Linked DNA regions of Homo sapiens: region 1 is linked to region 2. Evidence: promoter capture Hi-C in human tissues and cell types (Jung and others, 2019). All regions are on one chromosome and are shown on one strand. Each heading gives the region's core, a stretch centred on a gene start or on the middle of the fragment in contact. The rest is flanking DNA. Distances are from core to core; before and after follow the strand shown. Region 1 overlaps ARPIN-AP3S2 (ARPIN-AP3S2 readthrough). Region 2 holds the start of PEX11A (peroxisomal biogenesis factor 11 alpha).

Region 1 (2,961 bases), core at 64-2,563, 180 kb before region 2:
AAAACACTCACAGCCTTGTTGCTCACACAAAATGAACAAAATGGTCTCTTAGAAATAAAAAATGAGAGGAAATGGAAACAAACAAAAACCCACTTCAACTGAAGTATTAGAAAATCAAGTTAATCAATTGTCTCAGAATGGGCAGAGATGGAAAATGGGAGAGAAAAGATGAGAAAATAAGACAGAGGCCGGGCACAGTGGCTCACGTCTGTAACCCCAGCACTTTGGTAGGCCAAGACAGGGGGATCACTTAAGGTCAGGAATTGGATATCAGCCTGGCCAACATGGTGAAACCTCGTCTCTACTAAAAATACAAAAATTAGCCAGGCGTGGTGGTGCATGCCTGTAATCCCAGCTACTCAGGAGGCTGAGGCAGGAGAATTGCTTGAACCCAGGAGGCAGAGGCTGCAGTGAGCCAAGATCGTGGCACTGCACTTCAGCGTGGACAACAGAGCGAGAGTCTGTCTCAAAAAAAAAAAAAAAAGAAGACAGACAGAGGTCCAATACTTGAATATAAGCAGCTCCAAAAAGATTGATTAGGAATGTGGAAAGGAGGGAATTCTCAACAAAATAATTCGATAAAATTTCCCAGAACTGAAGGACTTGAACTGCAGGATTATAAGGGCTTACCAAGTACCCAGCATAGTGATTGAGAAATAGACCCATTTAACTATGTGTCCTTATAGTGAAATATTCTGGCACTGTTAAAAATGTAAAGATTTATGAATGGCACTAATATGAAATTATTGTATGTGGTTTTTGGCATACATGTATATATCTGTTAGATATGTTATCTGGGAGTAGAATTCCTAGATCATAGAGCATGCATACATAATGTCATAGTTTTCCAAAATGGTTGGTATCTGGCAAAATACAGTGCACTGGTTACCAGTCTCAAGAAAGGAATCTAAATGCTCTTGCCCATTGCATCTTGGTATCAGAGTCGGCAAGGAAAAAGTGCAAACACTGGATAAAGCTTTACTTACATAGAGAAGAGACAGAGCAGGATCAGCTCCAATAGTGTGCGTTGGTTCCTCATGGCAAGTGGGTCTGTCTCCCCAGCAGCCGCTGCAGGGTGGTTTGCCTATGAGCACCCATCTTGTGCTACAGTGGAACGGTGTGCCTGGTCTCTGTCACTTGCTGGCCTCAAGTAAGACCCATTTTCATGCAGTGCCGAACAATTCATGACACTGCTGACAATGAGATTGTTTAAATGAGGTCATTGTCTGAGAGAAATTAAACAGTTATAGATAGATACCTAGGTTGTAGTTACATGGTGTGTTCATTCTGAAAATTCATTAAACTGTGCCCTTGTCATTTGTACACTTTTCTGTTATGTTTTATTAAAAGTTAAAAGGTTCTATAGAGAAGTAAGCTCAGGGCTTTTAAAAAAAAATTTTAAGTTGTAAACACGTCAATTAAATTTATTCATAGGAAGGTATTTTGTAGGCTAAATAACTGACCAAAAAAATTAAAAAGGGAAGATGTTTTGAAGTTAATTTTGGCTGAAATTAAAACACAGCTATGTTAACCCTGTAATAATGAAAAATTTTTTGTACATGTATTCATTGAGGACATAGTATTGTAAGTAGTTGGTTTTTTTAATTTGTTATTCTTTTATGTAATTTTTTTTCTTTTTTCTTTTTTTTTTTTTGAGAGACTCTCACTCTGTCACTCAGGCTGGAGTGCAGTGGTGCGATCTCTGCTTATGGCAACCTCCACCTCAAATGATTCTCATTCAAGCTATTCTCGTGCCTCAGCCTCCCAAGTAGCTGGGACTATAACAGGCTCGTGTCGCCACACCCAGATAATTTTTGTATTTTTAGTAGAGATGGGTTTTCGTCTTGTTAGCAAGGCTGGTCGTGAGCTCTTGGCCTCAAGTGATCCTCCTGCCTTGGGCTCTCAAAGTGCTGAGATTGTAAGTATGAGCCACCATGCCCTACCATAAATTAGCATCTTATAAAGGGGGAAAGAGCCACATGTGTCTGCTGGTTGTGTTGCTATGCTGAAAACAAGGTTTTCCTGTCCTAGATTATTCCCTCTAAATCGAGATAAGTAGGGTGATCAGCTAATGCTGGAGACAAAAGGTAGGTGTTTTAATTTTTGAGATTTATCATAAAGTAAATAGTATTGTGACAGCCCCTTTTACTTTCAGATGTGACATTGATAAAGCTGTGAATGTGTTCCTATTTCTCTTCTTTATCTATTTCTCCTTGTTTTCTAGGTTTTTGTGGAAACTCTGGATAAGTGTTTCGAAAATGTGTGTGAATTGGATTTGATCTTCCATATGGATAAGGTATATTCTCTTGCAGTTCTCTTCCAAACTAGGGTTACTAGAAAACCAAGAGCCTTGGGCATCTGTAGCCACCTCTACATCTTCATATTGTTTCTTGTTTTTTTTTACTCTTAAGATAGTCCTAGAACATGTTTTATTTAATAGATTTAATAGTTTGGGTTTTGTTTTGTTTTTGCTAAGATCTACTAACAGTTTTAACGTGCATAAGATTATTACTAGGCCTATATCGTGGTTCATCTGTTCACAGACTGATTTCTTGATATAGGAGAATGATGTCACTGGCTACTTGGCCAAAGGTGAGATAAATAGTTTTATGCTGATTATAAAATTAGTTTCCTAGTCATAGGCCAGTGACAATGAAACTTTGGAATAATCATGACGCAGGGGCTTTGACTTAGATAGTAAAATTTATATCTTTCCTAAAGAGTAATATAGTGACTAAGAGATCTGTAATGTAATTCAAGGTCAGGTGATATTCTATAGGAAGGTAGACTATCAGAGGCAGAATTAAAATGGCCCCAAGTAGGTGTTCTCAGATTTGTTTTGCTAGGATAACTGTGACATGGCCTATGTCCTCATATGCCAAATTAAACTTGGGCAATAGCCAGCAAGGGAATAGGAATTGCCATGTTTATTTTATTCAACTTACCACATGCTGTCCCCTG
Region 2 (3,400 bases), core at 168-2,667:
AAAAGGTGGCAAAGGCATGGCTGCTTGCAGAGGTACGGGCAGACGTTGGATGTGGCTTGGAGTATCAGGATGGTATACAAGGCTCCTGGCAGGGAATGCAGGTGGGCACCAGAAACCAGAAAAGAAAGGGAAGTGGGAAAAGACTGGGAGCCATTTCTCCCCACACTGCCATATTCCAGCTGTGTTTCCAGGTATTCTAAGGAGTCTAGGGATTCTGAAGATGAACCTGGCCTTCTACATCATTATGAGGGTCTATTTGTCAATGTAGGAAAACAGACTATATTTTACTTTACAATTTGTTGCTTGATTTATAACTAAAATATTTAAACATACGGTGTGCTGGACTCCATTTGTACTCTTACCCAGGGCCTGCAAATGTTAGGAGCTGGCCTGACCAAGGGAATAAAGATTACGAAAATGTTCACCTTATTTTATTTTATTTTATTTTTTTGAGACAGCGTCTCGCTCTGTCGCCCAGGCTGGAAAGCAGTGGCACAATCTCGGCTCACTGCCACCTCCGCCTCCTGGGTTCCAGCGATTCTCCTGCCTCAGCCTCCCGAGTAGCTGGGATTACAGGCGCCCACCACCACGCCCGGCTACTTTTTTTGTATTTTTAGTAGAGACGGGGTTTCACCCTGTTGGCCAGGCTGGTCTCCAACTCCTGATCGCAGGTGATCCGCCCACCTCGGCTCCCAAAGTGTTGGGATTACAGGCGTAAGCCACAGCACCGGCCGACCTTATTTTGTGGTTATAGAGGGTACATTTTATAAAATTACTGCCACGGAGTGGGTAAGGCTCCTTTTCTTCAAGCCGCACAGAACGAATGTTCAGCGGTGCAATTTCATTGCAATCTATTTTTGCTTCACTTTGCTCATAATGACTCTTTTAGGATTTCCTCAGGTAACAATCTTCTTTCAATGTTCAATAATCCAAGCAGAACATTTTCTCACTTCATCCGCCTCCCATGCTAGGTTCACACTGTGAAATTGGCTTATCTCTGACCTAACCACTTCCTTCACCAGACATAGAGCTGGTGTAGCTCAAGGGAAAGAGGCACGGCGCTGGGAAATGATTAGGCCCCACCGTCCCAAGCAAGAGCTCAGGGGAGTTCTGAGGCTGGAGAGACCATTCGGGATATCACCCCGGGTTCCTGAGAACCTGAGATCTGCGGGGAGGCGTCAGGCATCCGGAAACGCCCGAGTCTGGGGAGACGGACCCCCTCAGACTTTCCTCTAGGAGACTCTACAGGTAAAGGGGAGTCCTGGGACTCGAGGGGAGCCCCGGCATCCAAAGGTAAGATCAGTTTTGCTCACCTGGCCGGGCGGCGTTGCGTCGCCTTGGTAACCACAACTTCCGGCTTGAACCGGAAGTCCGCGAAGTTGCTCTACAGAAAGTGTGCCCGCCCCCTCTGGGGCGGAGAGACTCAGCCCCTCCCCCTCAGCGGATAACCTGGGACTGACCGTTCCCTGGGGATCCGACGGGCCCCAGAGGACCCACGCCTGAGCCCCGTGCGACTCGTGGCCTTTGGGCTAGAAGCCATGGACGCCTTCACCCGCTTCACCAACCAGACCCAGGGCCGGGACCGACTCTTCAGGTGAGTCAGGTGCCAGCGGCCTCCGCCCCTTTCTCGCCCTAACTCGGCTCCCGTGCCTATTCCCCTGCACCCGGGAAAAAGGAGGTGATAGCCTAGTAGATGGAAGCAGGAAGGACGTTGCCAGCTCCTACGGAGGGAGTTTAGTATCCGAGCCCCTCCTTACCCTAAATTCAACGTGAGTGGGCCCAACGCACCCGCGTCCCGTCCTAGCCCCGTGCACGAAAGCCCCAGTGCCTGGCACCCTAGCCGCCTCGAGACCGCCGACGACGGGACACCGGCTGACAGATCCTCCTCCCCTCCTAACTTTGCTCTCCGGGCACAGAAAGATTGGTTCTCTCCACTCAACATTCTTCCGAGGGATCTCCTTTAAAGAGAAACTTTGGATTAGTATTTGTGGCTAGGGAAGCAAACCACTTGGTGTGACTTCAAATATCTCTCTTTTTTTTTTCTTTTGAGACGGAGTCTCGCTCTGTCGCCCAGGCAGTGGCGCGGTCTCGGCCCACTGCAACCTCTGCCTCCCGGGTTCAAGCGATTCTCCTGCCTCAGCCTCCTGAGTAGCTGGGATTACAGGCGTGCACTACCACGCCCGGCTACTTTTTGTATTTTTAGTAGAGACGGGGGTTTCGCCATGTTGGCCAGGCTGGTCTCGAACTCCTGACCTCAGGTGATCTGTCCACCTCGGCTTCCCAAAGTGCTGGGATTACAGGTGCGAGCCACCGCGCCCGGTCTCAAATACCTCTTGAAATGTTTGAGGAGAGACAGAAGTTCTCTTCCATTATTACCCAGGCTGTATCATTGAGATACTGCATGTGGAATAGTTTTGTAAATTGTAAAACAAAATATAGCGGGGATGAGACCACACCAACTGGATTGGGGGGAAATACAGTGGGGAGAAGCTCAGAAAGAACTAACTGCACCTCTAAGGTTCATGCTGTGCTACTGAAAATATTAAACAGAGATTGTGTCTCTTTTTCTTTTGGTTCCATAAGAAACGAAAAGAACTGAGAGATTGTATCTTTAATACGAATACAGTACTAGTTCATGATGTTTTAGAGATTTGGTTGATTCTTGCTTAATGAAAAAATATTTACAGTTGCAGTTTTATTTAACAGCTCTGCATTCTCTTCTGGGTGTGCAAGTGCTGATACAAACAGATCAATTAGAATGGCCCCAATAATGAGGCTTTTGGAAGCCATCTTTATGACAGCTATTGTTCCCAGTGTTTTGCAACTATGAACTTATATAACCCTCATCACAACCCTATGAGGTAGATACTCTAAATATTTTACCCACTTCAGATGGAGAAACTGAAGCAGAAAGAGGTTAATAGGTACTACAATGGCAGAACTGAGGGATTCACATCCACGCAAATGACTCCAGTGCCCACTTAACTACCAAGCTATACTGGCTTTCTCATTAGTTTGATAGGTTTTTTAAATGGTTACTTTATATACAAGCTTCATTAAATAGAAATTTCATTAAATAGAAACCTGTAATTCCAGTGTACCTAGAATGTACCCTGCAGGGTTTATCAAGGAAGTTGGTTAAAAAAATAATCATTTAGGCCGGGTGCAGTGGCTTACACCTGTAATCCCAGCACTTTGGGAGGCTGAGGTGGGCGGATCACAAAGTCAGGAGATCGAGACCATCCTGGCTAACATGGTGAAACCCTGTCTCTACTAAAAATACAAAAATTAGCTGGGCGTTGTGGTGGGCGCCTGCAGTCCCAGCTACTCAGGAGGCTGAGGCAGGAGAATGGCATGAGCCCAGGAGGCAAAGCTTGCAGTGAGCCAAGATCACGCCACT

Evidence for each region. The method cuts DNA at HindIII sites, captures the fragments that hold promoters and counts their contacts. A contact is called where the count stands out against the background at its distance.
Region 1: a fragment that was not itself captured here is called in contact with the fragment with the promoter of PEX11A in region 2 in 2 of the 25 tissues and cell types used here (IMR-90 fibroblasts and mesenchymal stem cells).

The regions. Positions count from the first base shown.
Region 1 is chr15:89,870,810-89,873,770 of GRCh38, reverse strand. ARPIN-AP3S2 (ARPIN-AP3S2 readthrough) reads left to right here. Exons shown (of 10, transcript NM_001199058.2): 8 at 2,225-2,296. It overlaps AP3S2 (adaptor related protein complex 3 subunit sigma 2), which reads left to right. Exons shown (of 6, transcript NM_005829.5): 4 at 2,225-2,296. Among named protein-coding and RNA genes, the nearest start is that of MIR5009, 12 kb to the left of the region's middle. The HindIII fragment of the contact is 7,631 bases long and covers 1-2,961 here.
Region 2 is chr15:89,688,771-89,692,170 of GRCh38, reverse strand. PEX11A (peroxisomal biogenesis factor 11 alpha) reads left to right here and starts at 1,417. Exons shown (of 3, transcript NM_003847.3): 1 at 1,417-1,594. The coding sequence starts at 1,539. It overlaps WDR93 (WD repeat domain 93), which reads right to left and starts at 1,360. Exons shown (of 17, transcript NM_020212.2): 1 at 1,314-1,360. RefSeq lists an enhancer at 1,493-1,582. The HindIII fragment of the contact is 14,807 bases long and covers 1-3,212 here.